Regions from separate parts of the Homo sapiens genome. Here all the other regions are linked to region 2. Evidence: promoter capture Hi-C in 16 types of primary human blood cells and fetal thymus (Javierre and others, 2016). All regions are on one chromosome and are shown on one strand. Each heading gives the region's core, a stretch centred on a gene start or on the middle of the fragment in contact. The rest is flanking DNA. Distances are from core to core; before and after follow the strand shown.

Evidence for each region. Contacts are between HindIII fragments. The CHiCAGO score rates a contact against its expected background, and 5 or more counts as called.
Region 1: a fragment that was not itself captured here is called in contact with the fragment with the promoter of WRAP73 in region 2 in 1 of 17 cell types (neutrophils); the score reaches 7.1 in neutrophils.
Region 3: a fragment that was not itself captured here is called in contact with the fragment with the promoter of WRAP73 in region 2 in 1 of 17 cell types (neutrophils); the score reaches 6.0 in neutrophils.

The regions. Positions count from the first base shown.
Region 1 is chr1:1,216,699-1,220,812 of GRCh38, reverse strand. SDF4 (stromal cell derived factor 4) reads left to right here. Exons shown (of 7, transcript NM_016176.6): 5 at 1,886-2,044; 6 at 2,180-2,355; 7 at 3,125-3,882. The coding sequence ends at 3,301. Among named protein-coding and RNA genes, the nearest start is that of TNFRSF4, 4.6 kb to the right of the region's middle. The HindIII fragment of the contact is 5,266 bases long and covers 1-4,114 here.
Region 2 is chr1:3,647,117-3,651,533 of GRCh38, reverse strand. It overlaps WRAP73 (WD repeat containing, antisense to TP73), which reads left to right and starts at 1,431. Exons shown (of 12, transcript NM_017818.4): 1 at 1,431-1,603; 2 at 3,974-4,126. The coding sequence starts at 1,535. RefSeq lists an enhancer at 367-1,210. The HindIII fragment of the contact is 11,564 bases long and covers 1-2,322 here.
Region 3 is chr1:6,616,032-6,620,331 of GRCh38, reverse strand. PHF13 (PHD finger protein 13) reads right to left here. Exons shown (of 4, transcript NM_153812.3): 2 at 3,474-3,575; 3 at 1-529. Among named protein-coding and RNA genes, the nearest start is that of PHF13, 4.5 kb to the right of the region's middle. The HindIII fragment of the contact is 6,226 bases long and covers 1-4,300 here.

The DNA.
Region 1 (4,114 bases), core at 1,341-3,840, 2.4 Mb after region 2:
AGGCCTTGCCCGTGCCCGCCCCCCAACTCTGATTGTGTCTGTCTTTCCTTGGTGCCACTTTATTTGGGTCTTTTCTGCCCAGGACATGGCCCACCTGGACCTAGAGCTCTGTGACATTTCTGTGAAGCCTCCGTCTACCTTTGGGACTCAGCAGAGGTGTGTTTAGAATTCACTCTGCGTTTTGGGGGTCCCCATGCATGCTGAGGTGCTGTTCCCTGCCCACCCGTGTCCGATCCGTCTTGGCCTCCCCGACCTCAGGGTGCCTAGGACCCCCCGACCTCTTTGGGTATTTGGTTTCTGGCTCAGGAAGAGCAGCTGCCGGGTCCTGGAGGAGGGGCCTGGGAAGCGCTGGCAGGCGTCACTCCTGCGACCTCCCACCCCTCCCTGCATGGCTCCTGCGAGGGTCACCGCGTGAGTCCGGGGGCTGCTGTCCTCGCGCCTCAGACCTGATTCTGGGGACCGCGGTGAAGGCGTGGCAGGCGGGCATCACTCCCTTCCCCCGCCTCCATCGCTGCCTCTCTCTGGGTCTGCGTCCTCTTCTCACAGGGACAGCAGTCGTTGACTCTCCCTGATCCAGGAGGGTCTCTCCAGATCCTTCCCTAACAGCAGAGGCCCGGCTCGTGGGGAGGGACTGGGACTCAAGGCTTCTTCACCAGCCTGAGGTTGGTGCTGGGGCTCGGCGGCGGCTGTGAGAATCCTGTGCTGGAGAAAGCGTCTCTCGGCCGGCCTGTCTGGGGCGTCTGTGCCTCTCCTGGATGGGTCTCAGTTTGGCCCCGTCCATCCATCCCAGGAGCTGCGGTGGAGCAGACAGGGAGGGGTGCCCCAGGAACCACAGCCCCGTCACTCCTGTCTTCCTTTAAGTGAACCGGTCGTGTAGATGGAGGTTGTTCAGAAAGGGATAAGATGGGACGGCAGCTGGGCCTCATCCCGCAGTGAGCGCGACGCAGAGGCTGCCGGGCTTGTGGCAGGGGCTTCGGCCAGGGCAGAGTCGGGCCTCACGTGCAGGGGGCTGAGTGTGGGCCTCAACACTGGACTTGGCCACTGACTGCAGTGAGCCCCAAGATGGGGCAGGAGGTGGTGTTTCTGTCCTGGAGACCCAGGGTGGCTTGGGTCCTTGGGATGTGTGGGGACCTCGGGGTGAGGGCCCGTTGGGGCCGGGTGGGCACGGCAGGAGAGCGGGGGCCACACACCCAGAGGCAGTGCCGTGTCCCGGCTGGGAGGGTTCCTGGGAAGCTCTGCTCAGCCCCAGTCTCAGTCATTTCTAGAAACTGTGTTTTCCTCCCTGTGACGTCACACGTGAAGGAAACGGAAAAGGGCAGTGAGTCCTTCGCCCCGCGGCGCCGTGCGCACGTCAGCCTTCAGGGTGATTCCGCTCCTCCAGAGGGGCAGGCGCGGGTGTGGGGGGTGGGGCCCAGGCCCATCCTGAGGGGTCCCAGGCATGAGGGGCTCTGAGCTGTGTCCTGGGGTGGTCTGGGCCATGGGGAGGTTCTGGATCATGTCTTGAGAGGTCTGGGCTGTGTGGGGGGTCCAGGCCATGTCCTGGGGGTCTGGGCTGTGTCTGTGGGGAGTCAGGGCCATCCATGTATTGGGGGTCTGGGGCAGGGGGGGGTCCAGGCTGTCTTGGGGAGTCCGGGCTGTGTGGAGGGGTCCAAGCTATGCCTTTGGGGATCAGGCCTGTGGGAGGCTCTGGGTTATGTCTTGGCGGGGGTCCAGGCTGTGTCTTAGGGGCTGGGCCATGTTCTGGGGACGTGTGAATCCTGGAGGGTGGGGCCCCGGTCTCGCGGGTGGCTGTGTCCCTCGAGTTCAGGCAGCACCTCTCGGAACTTTCTGGATTTGCGTGCTGGCGTCTGTCGGCCTCGATACCCACAGGCTGCGCCCCTCTCAGCACAGGAAGTCCTGGAGAACCTGAAGGACCGCTGGTACCAGGCGGACAGCCCCCCTGCAGACCTGCTGCTGACGGAGGAGGAGTTCCTGTCGTTCCTCCACCCCGAGCACAGCCGGGGAATGCTCAGGTTCATGGTGAAGGAGATCGTCCGGGACCTGGGTGAGGCTGGGTCCAGCCTGGCCGGCACGCCAGGACCCAGGACCGACTGGCAGGGGCCGGGCATCGTCGGGAGGTCGGGGCAGGTCCTGCGGGAGCCCCAGCCTGGGTGTGGGCTGACCCATTCCCGTCTCGCAGACCAGGACGGTGACAAGCAGCTCTCTGTGCCCGAGTTCATCTCCCTGCCCGTGGGCACCGTGGAGAACCAGCAGGGCCAGGACATTGACGACAACTGGGTGAAAGACAGAAAAAAGGAGTTTGAGGAGCTCATTGACTCCAACCACGACGGCATCGTGACCGCCGAGGAGCTGGAGGTGAGCCCTGGCGCAGCCGTGTCCCGGAGCCGGCCCTGCGAGGTGCTGTGGCGGGAGGGGCTGGTGGATCTGGGCCTGAGGCAGGAAGCTGTGCTGGTGTCTGGCCTGAGACTCCATCTGGGCTGGTCACTGGGGCGTTTGCTCAGCGGTGTCCACCAGGCTGCATGGCCGTTGTTGGCGTTTAGGTTCAGACGGATCAGAGACAGGCGAGCCTGGCCGGGCTCCATCCTCAGCCCCTTGCGGAGGCGTCAGGGTTCTCACAGCCCCTTTTTAACGGGACCACAAGGGGAAGCTCATGCTGGGCCCAGCATGGAGGCAGGTCCAAGGCCCAGCAGGTGCAGGTGGGCGGGGCGGCCTGTGCCACATGGCTGGAATTTACCACCTTCCTCTGAAGCGTTTTCACTGGTATCATGTGTAGGCTTGTTTTTCTCCCACTGCTGAGTGAGTCATCTTGTTTTTATGTAGAATCCTGTGATTCCTGGCGACAGCCAGTGGGCCCGGCCCAGGTTAGGGATCCTTCAGAACTGGGGTCCAGGCCTGTGTAGCCCCTGTGCCCCGTTACCCCTGCTGGCCCCGGGCAGGCCTTCCGGGGCCCCCGGCTTCTCCCTGCCCTGTGTTTTCATTTGTGCCGCCTCCCTTCGGGAACCTTCCAGAACGTGCCCACACTCCCGCTGCAGCCAATAGGCACCTTAAATAGCCACTTCGTGCGGCTGGCCGCGGAGCTCGGAGGGGGAAAGGCGACGCTGACCTGTGCCCCGCTCGCCCGCAGAGCTACATGGACCCCATGAACGAGTACAACGCGCTGAACGAGGCCAAGCAGATGATCGCCGTCGCCGACGAGAACCAGAACCACCACCTGGAGCCCGAGGAGGTGCTCAAGTACAGCGAGTTCTTCACGGGCAGCAAGCTGGTGGACTACGCGCGCAGCGTGCACGAGGAGTTTTGAGCGCCCGGCCGCGCCCCGCGCCGCCCCCCACGCACCACCGGGGCGGCCTCGCGGGTGACTCCGGGCTCCGTGGCTGTCCCGGACCCCACCTCTTCCCTGCCGCCCGCCACCGGCCGACCGACCGCGGCTGCCCCAGTTGATGAGCGGCGTGTCCCCTCTGCAGCGCGCACCCCGGCGGGGCTTTGGCTGTGACGCGGTCGGGGCGCGGGGCTGGGCTGTGGCCCCGCGGCGCCGCCTCCTCCCTGGTCCCTCGAAATCGTGGCATCTCACTTCTGAGAACGAAATCTCGCTTCAGTCACTCTGCCGAAGGCGCTGACGGCATCGCGGCCGGAACCTCTGGGCCCGGCCCCTCCCAGGGCCGCCGCTCCGTGGGAAAAAACAGCTCCTCCATTTCCTTGAAAACTGAACGATTATTAAAAATAGATTAAACTTCGCTGGAAATGAGTAGCCAGGAAGTTCAGGGGAGGGTGCCGGGTCCTTCCCGGGCCTGGCGTGTCGGAGCCACCCAGGTCCCGCAGCTGCCGCTGAGAAAATGCAAATATTTGTTGTGACAAGAATCACATACATTTACTTTAAATATAGTTGCCTTTTTTGGTCAGCTTCATTCTTTGGGCGTGAAACAAAACACAACAGCAGCGTGCTAGGTTTGTGGTTACAGTTTCCACTGGAGCGCTGGAGGCTGGTGCTGGGTCACGTGGAGGGTTGGAGGTCATGGCCGGTTCGAGGTGATTCTCCTGGCAGGTGGCAACGGGCAGGGGCTCTGGGAGGACGGAGGGCAGCGCTGCGTTTGTGAGTAGGGGTCAGGGGGCAGCA
Region 2 (4,417 bases), core at 182-2,681:
CACCAGGCCCTGGCTAGGGGACCCGACATGCTGGGCGAGTTCCGAGCGGCTCTCAGTGGCGGCGCTGCTTATGGTCTGATGCTTATGGGGCCCGTGATCTGGCTCCGAACCGATGTCCTCTGCCCATGGTGACCCCCACGTCTTGGAAAGTCGCGTCAGTGAAGCCCGTGGCTTCGCGAGCGAGCCGGGCTGGCGCAGACTGGGTTCTCTGGCCGCAGCGGGTCCGCGCCTGACGGGGAGGGTCCGGCTGACTCGCACATCTTCATGGCTCACCCACTGTTTGCTGGGCGCACGGGGTGGGGACCCAAAGACGAATCCCATGCAGAGGTTTGGGTCTAGTTTTGGCAACAGAAAAGGCCGGCACCGCCGGAGTAGGACGCGCGCGCACCACCATCCATTCGGCCGGGGAGGTTGGGGCGTCCGCGGGGAGCAGACCCGAGGCTGGGCGCCCGGAGGTACGAGCAGGACCCTGGCCGGCTCTCAGCTCCCAGAACCCAGGGCCAGGCGGGGATGTCAGGGTCTGCGCGATCTGGGGGGCCCTAGAGGCGCCGGCGGGGCCTGGCGCGGACTACTAGCGGCCTGCGGGAGCCAGGGGTGGAGGGGGCCGCTGTCTAGGGAAGAGGACCGGGGTCCGGAGTGGGGGTGAGAACGAGGCACGCCCCTGAGCCTGCGAAACCTGCGGACCGAGCGCCCGCGCAGGAGCTCGCTCCCTCTGGGCCCCCAGGTCCCAGACCCGCACGATTCTTCGCCCGGTGCCAGCCCAGATGCGCGCGGGTGATGAACGGGCGGTGGCCGCGATCCACGCGCTCGCTCTGCCCAGTCAGCGGCAAATTCGTTCTCTCCTTGATCTCAGTGGCACTGGAGCGTGAGGCAAGGGCCAGGCGGCAGGTAGAGGGGTCGGACTCAGCAAAAGCAAACAAAACCCCAAGCAAACGAAATAAATACTTATACATTACATACACGATATAATATATGTGCGACAGACACCGTATTACTTATTAAAGATATATTTGTAGGTAAACATATATTTACATGTAAACATACATTTACATATAAATATAAATATATATATATGCATGTGTACACACACGCAGACACACAGGTCGCTCAATTAAATTTGAATTTCAGACTAGCGAGTAATTTTTCCGTATTAGCATGTCCCGTGCAATATTTGGGAACATACTTATAACTAGATTTGTTGTGAATCTGAAATTCAAATTTTACTGTGCTTTCTACATTTTTATCAGCAGCCCTAGCTGGAGGTGCTCAAAGGCCTCCCGGCCTTTGAGGTAAGGTTCTCGGGTCGGAAATCCCTGGTCGGAAGAAACGTGGGCGTTTCCTTTAAAGCCCTGCGGCACAAGAACTACAAGCCCCACAATGCCGCGCGGAAGCCGGCGGCGCTGATAGGCTGCAGTTCACTTCCGCCTTCTGACTTCCGGCCTCGGAGGCCGGCGTCGGCTGTTGCAGCCTGCTGCGCGCCCAGGGGTCCCGCGGGTTTTCGGGCGCAGGGTGGCGCCCGCGGCAGGCGGCGGCCATGAACTTCTCCGAGGTATTCAAGCTCTCCAGCTTACTCTGCAAGTTCTCCCCGGACGGCAAGTACCTGGTGAGCGGCGGGGACCTGGGCCACGGGCAGGACATCCTCGGTGCCAGCGTCCCCGGCGGGCAGGGCCGGGGGCGGCCGCGTGGGTGGAGGCAGCTTGGGGATCCTGCAGGTGCGGTGCCCGGACAGGTGCGGGGCCCGGGCAGGTACCCGGGGCAGGTGCAGTGTCTGAGCAAGTGCCCCAGACAGGTGCGGGACCCAGGAAGATACCCTAGACAGGTGGAGGGCCCGGGGAGGTGCCCCAAGCAGGTGCGGGGCCCAGGCAGGTACCCCAAGCAGGTGCGGGGCCCAGGCAGGTACCCCAAGCAGATATGGGGGCCGGACAGGTGCAGGACCCCGGCAGGTGCCCGGGCAGGTGCGGGACCCAGGAAGATACCGTAGACAGGTGGGGGGTCTGGGGAGGTGCCCTTGGAAAGGTGGGTATCGGCAGTGCCGACTGCACACAGGTGAGGGTATAGGAGATGTCGGCTCTTTGTTGTTACTTTGTCACAAAAGGCAAATTGATGATTCTGTTGCCTGTAAACTGGTAAGTGGTGTGGCTACTTTGTCATCTCTACTTCTCCTCTAATTCTCTTCTCCTCTACCACATGCCGAATAAATGATTTAAATACTAGTATTCTATCCCCAGGTAAGGAAGTAGTTGTCCTCATGGCTGGGATTTGAGGTCTTCGTTCCATGGGTGGCAGAAGGGTGCTTAAATCACAGAGCTATAACTTTAAGCTTCAAAACATATAGTGTATGTACCTGGATGCCTAGTAGTGTATATCCTCAGAAGAGAGGGATAACCCGGATGCCTAGTATGTATGTCCTCAGAAGAGGGGGACAATTGGCATTGGAAAGCCACTAAGAAGAAACATGCCTCGTAAAAAGTGGGCTTCGTTTTCCTTATCCACCACCTGTACTAACTGACTGATGTATCATGATGCTTTTTCAGGTTTTGCCACTCCTGACATTCCTGTGCTCTGTCTAGCTTTTGAGAGTTTAACTCTCAAATTACGTTTTTTACCTCTTCAGGGAGGTTTTATTCCAAATCACATAAAATAGCATCAGCTACAAAACAGAAAACCTCATTAGTTTAAATGGCATCTCAGCCTTGGTATATTTTCAATGTGCCCCCCTCCTCAATTAAATGAGAGGTTTGTTTTTTGTTTTTACCATTTATGAAAATTTCAGTGAATTATAAGGAGAAAGATTACATCTGCTTGCTTAACTTGGGTGTTTTTTTCCAGCTTGTACACTCTGGTCAAAATACCCTGAAACACTTGGTAATGATCTGTTACTGGAATCATCTTCTTGAAAGCCCTGAGGACTGGGGAGAGCAGGTCCATGTTTCTAGTTTTCATATCTTGCAGTAGAGTTTATGTGGTTCCTCAAGGTGTTGGTAAAAATATTCCATTTCATAAGGAATTCACTGTAACTGATCACAGTTTTCAAAGCTACAGTGTGAGAAAGTAAGTGCTGTGGTAGCTCCTTGTTCCAATCTGCCGTCACCCGCCTGTCTCTCTTTTCTCCCACGGAAAACTAACGTGGCTTTCTTTTTTGATATCGGTTCATAAAACACAAACTACTTTGACCTTGATAAGTAAAACTAACGAAGCAGTTAATATTTAAACATCAGTTCTTGATCTTGAAACTGTAGTAAAATATACATTCAGCAGGTGAGTACTCAGGCGTTATTTTTACTTGAAATTGTTTGCTTGGATAGGGACATAATGAACAAATATGGACAAGAAGAAACTATCTTTAAGAAAATAGTACTAACACTTAAACATTTCCCGTTTCGTGTTAGGAATAGGTTAATGGAGATAAATGAGCATTTGCGAAGCATCTTTATGTGTGCAGAAGTGAAAGCCTGTCTTTTGATCTTCTGTTGTTTTGGCTCTGAGTTCGGCACTGCATAAGAAGATTGATGCATTCCTTGCCATTTTCGTTGTCATCTGTGAAGCCTCAATTCTTACCCTTTATAAATTTGAGGAAATTGTCCAAAAGTGTTTATAAAACTAGCAGAGGATTTTGGTTATTAGTTCACAGAAGAGCTTTCTCCCAATGCTACTTCCCATTTAAGTTTAGTTTTTAACATACAGATAAGAAGGGACTTAAAAATGTCTTAAAGCTTTAAGTAGCGAGTTAAAACATACTTTTATACTTTACAATAGAGTATAGCAATATTAAAACCTGGCTTGTATATTTCAACATTACCCTTGTATGAACTGAACTGATCTTTAGGGGCTGGGGATGTCACTGGTGATCTAGACATGAAACCTCTGGCAGGAGAGAAGGCCACAGTCACTGAAGGCCAGGGCAGTAGCATTCCGAAGGCCCCCCTCTTTTGGAGTGGAGAATGTCAGGTGCTTGCTTTCTCATATTTTTTAGGCTTCCTGTGTCCAGTACCGGTTAGTGGTCCGGGATGTGAACACCCTTCAGATCCTTCAGCTGTACACGTGCCTAGACCAGATCCAGCACATCGAGTGGTCGGCAGACTCGCTCTTCATCCTGTGCGCCATGTACAAGCGAGGGCTGGTGCAGGTGTGTGCTGCCGTGTCGCTTAGAATCTGGACACCTTCTGAGGGCCCCTGGGAAGGAGGGGTTTTGTTCTGTGCCTTTCTAGTTTGAAAAAAAAGTCCGTGCAGCTCAAAGCCAGTTTTCTTTTGAAATTATAACGTTCTCTAAAGTTTAAGAACATTTAAACTAAGGAAACTCCAACGTAGTCTTAATTTCTAAGCAATATAGTTGAGAAACGGAGGTGTTGACAGCAATCTAGCCACGCGGATGTGGTGTGTTTCAGGAAGTCCTAAGAAGTCGTGTTTTCTTCTGTGT
Region 3 (4,300 bases), core at 137-2,636, 3.0 Mb before region 2:
CCACCATGATGTCCTCATCATTGCCAGTGCTGTCCTCATCTCGGAACACCACCTGCTTTCCCTGCCGGACGATAGTCCGTTTGCCTTCAGTTTTTATTTCTTTGACCTGATCAGGTGACACAGTGGCACAAGATCCACTCGAGGGAGTATCGGAGTCCCAGCCCGAGCAGGGGTCGCTGGGAGCCTGGGGGATATCCTGCAAGGTGGGACTCGTGGGGGTCTCCACGTAGGGGTCAGCGGCTTCCAGCTTCAGCAAGCCCCCCCTGTACCCCTCTTTCCCAGGCGCATCACTGTCCCTGCGCTTCCTCTTCTTCTTCTTCTTCAGCTTGTCCGTTTTCTTTCTGTCCAGCAGGAAGTTACTGGGCTTGGCTCGCTGCAAGAGAGTAGGCTGCAGGTGGCTAAAGCAGCGGTCAGAGACTGGCAAGGGCACTGAGGACGCGATGTCTGAGAAACCCGCGTCCCAGCCGTCGCTGTCAATGGTACCAGCAGTGCTGTTAGCAGGGCTGGGGCTGCTCCTTAAAGGGAGTTCCTAAAAAGACAAAGGTGGCAGATTCCAGTTACTGGTGACAAGATCCAGCCCAGAGCAGAGCATCCCCAGCCACCCAGCCATGTCAGACCTCCAGAGACATCTGCACAACTTTGAGCTTCTCTGCCCATCAGCATCACACTTGAAGCAACAGTAACATGAGTTCTGGCTGGGCGTGGTGGCTCACACCTGTAATCCCAGCACTCTGGGACGCCAAGGCAGGCGGATCACCTGAGACCAGGAGTTCAAGACCAACCTGGCCAACATGGTGAAACCCCATCTCTACTAAAAATACAAAAATTAGCTGGGCGTGGTGGTGGTGCCTGTAGTCCCAGCTACTTGGGAGGCTGAGGCAGGAGAATCGCTTGAACCCGGGAGGCAAATGTTGCAGTGAGCCACTGCACTCCAGCCTTGGTAACGGGAGGGAGATTCTGTGTCTCAAAAAAAAAAAAACCCAGTGCCATCAGTGCCATGAGTTTAATGTGATGCCACGAAGAGAGAAACTCCCTGCTGAACCCTCAGCCCCATCTTAGAGACAGAAAATTCATCAGTGTGCAACAGGTGTCTGTGGGAAGGAGTGCTGTGGACACCCACTCCTATCTGCTCATTGTTCCCTGATTGTAAAACCTCTCCTTCCATTTGCCCTCCCAAGAGATATATTGTTTTAAGTGAATTTAAATTAGTTTTGAGAATTTCCTGACACTCTTAAAAAACTAGACATTCCAAAATATTGCAGAATCCAAGTAGGTAATTACTGCCCCAAAGCAGTGAAGTAAACTCTATGGTTCATTCAGATCACAAGCATATCATTTGCAAACAGTGGCAACGTCCTCCTTGTCTTGCTAGAAAACAGGCATTAGGCTGGGTGCGGGGGCTCACACCTGTAATCCCAGCACTTTGGGAGGCTGAGGCGGGTAGATCACCTGAGCTCAGGAGTTCGACACCAGCCTGGCCAACATGGTGAAACCCCCTCTCTACCAAAAATACAAAAAAATTAGCTGTGCATGATGGCTGACACCTGTAATCCCAGCTACTTGGGAGGCTGAAGCAGGGAGAATTGCTTGAACCCAGGAGGCAGAAGTTGCAGTGAGCTGAGATCGCACCACCACACTCCAGCCTGAGCCACAGAGCAAGACTCCGTCTCAAAAAAAGAAAAAAAGAAAGAAAAGAAAGCAGGCATTAGCCACCTATGTAGCAGATGGAAATAAACCAATGCTGGCAGTTTGCCTGCTAGAAATATACTGAATGCAGCTGGGCACAGTGGCTCGTGCCTGTAAACCCAGCACTCTGGGAGACCAAGGCAGGAGCATCACTACCTCGAGACCAGCCTCAGCAACACAGTGAGACCTTGTCTCTACAAAAAATAAAATTACGGCCAAACGCAGTGGCTCACGCCTGTAATCCTAGCACTTTGGGAAGCCAAGGCAGGTGGGTCACTTGAGGCCAGGAGTTTGACACCAACCTGGGCAACATGGCGAAACCTTGTATCTACTAAAAATACAAAAATTAGGTGGGTGTGGTGGTGGGCCTGTAGTCCCAGCTACTTGGAAGGCTGAGGTGGGAGGATCACTTCAGCACAGGAGAAAGAGGCTGCAGTGAGCCAAGACTGTGCCACTGCACTCCAGCCTGGGCAACAGAGCAAGACCTGTCGCAAAAAAAAAAAAGCTGGATTGTTCAATTTTGAGCTTAATCGAATACGAAAGAGGCCTGAAGTCTGAGCACCACAGCCGCTCTCCTCCAGTCCTGCCCTGTTCTCAGCAAGTGAAAAAACCTCCTTCATCTACATCAAGTTGCAGCCATGAGTCCCTGAAGACAATCATACGCATTTCGGGCAGCCAGGGAGCTGAGACAGAGGCAGCGTGTGCACTGAGTCCAGCCATCTGGTTGAACCCCAAGCTCCACCACTAATCAGTGGGTGACCTAAGACAAAGTTTTCCCTCTCTATGCCTTAGTTTCCTCAGCTTATAAACTGGAGATAAAAAATAGCACCTACCTCATAGCATTACATAGGCCAAGAATAGTGTCCAGCTATGGTCAACAGTCAGTAACTACAGACCCTTATTAAAAGCAAGCAGACAGCCAGGTGCAGTGGCTCAACGCTTGTAATCCCAGCACTTTTGGGAGGCCGAGGCGGGTGGATCATGAGGTCAGGAGTTCGAGACCAGCCTCGACAACACGGTGAAACCCCGTCTCTAGTAAAAATACAAAAAACTAGCTGGGTGTGGTGGCGCGCCCAGCTACTCATGAGGCTGAGACAGGAGAATCGCTTGAACCCAGGAGGCAGAGGTTGCAGTGAGCCACAATTGCACCACGGCACTCCAGCCTGGGCGACAGAGCCAGACTCCATTTCAAACAAACAAACAAAAAGAGCAAGCAAATATCACATATTTTATTTGTAAATAAACTGAAAGTTTACTAAATCGGCTGGGCGGTAGCTCACGCCTGTAATCCCAGCACTCTGGGAGGCCGAGGCAGGTGAATCACCTGAGGTCAGGAGTTCGAGACCAGTCTGGCCAACAAGGTAAAACCCTGTCTCTACCAAAAATACAAAAAAGAATTAGCGTGGTGGCGCACGCCTGTCATCCCAACTACTGAGGAGGTTGAGGCAGGAGAATCCCTTGAACCCGGGGGTGGAGTTTTACGACACTGCACTCCAGCCTGGGCGACAGAGCAAGTTTCCATTCCAAAAAAAAAGAAAGTTTACTAAATCATTTTCTAGACAAGCCTGCATTTTCTACCAGAGTTTTTACCAGAGTTTTAGAACCATTTCCCCAGCTAATTCAAACTCTCAAGAAACAGATTTCTGCCAGACTAGTGACTGGGGTCACCACAAGCAGCCCCTTCCAAACCTACTGACCCTCTGACCAGTCAGAAGCCCACGAACTTGCGGTGGAGGCACTGGGTTTGACTACTCATCAAGAAAGGTCTCAGAAACTCAGAAGATTACCTCCTTCGGATAAGGGATGTAGCCAGCATAGGCCAAGACAAAGGTGCAGAATTTGTTGAAGTCTTCCACGGTCCTGCGCCTCTTGCAACTGGGGGAGTATTCCTATTAAGGGGAGAGAAAAGGGAATGTGTTTGAAGGAGAGGCTTCCAGGCGGAATCACAGAAACAAAAGGAAGTAAGCTGGAACTTTTGTAGTCAATCACTCAAAAAATACCGTTAGATTTACACAGTCCACAAACAAGATACGGTAAGTTCAGGTCAAGAAATAACACTATTTTCAGAGAGCAGAAAGAGGAGTATTAAGACTTTATGCCAAGAATGCTGGGAAATCAGCTGGGAGATAAAAACTTCTACAAAAGTCTATTTCTTAGTGCTCATGTGGCATTTTCTGACTTTATCTATTAGTTTCCACAGGCCTATCAGGCGAAGCTCTAATAACTACTTTTTTGCTACAGATTTTCCATTCTGAGTATGAACTGCTGCAGCAGCAGCTGGAACTGATGTATGTTAAGTGATTTCAAAAATCAACCACTCGCCGGGCGCGGTGGCTCTCGTCTGTAATCCCAGCACTTTGGGAGGCCGAGGCGGGCGGATCACGAGGTCAGGAGTTCGAGACCAGCCTGACCAACATGGTGAAACCCCGTCTCTACTAAAAATACAAAAATTAGCCGGGCGTGGTGGCGTGCACCTGTAGTCCCAACTACTCAGGAGGCTGAGGCAGGAGAATCGCGTGAACCCGGAGGCGGAGGTTACAGTGAGCCAAGATCGCGCCACTGCACTCCAGCCCGGTAGACAGAGCTAAGATTCCAACTCAAAAAAAAAAAAAAA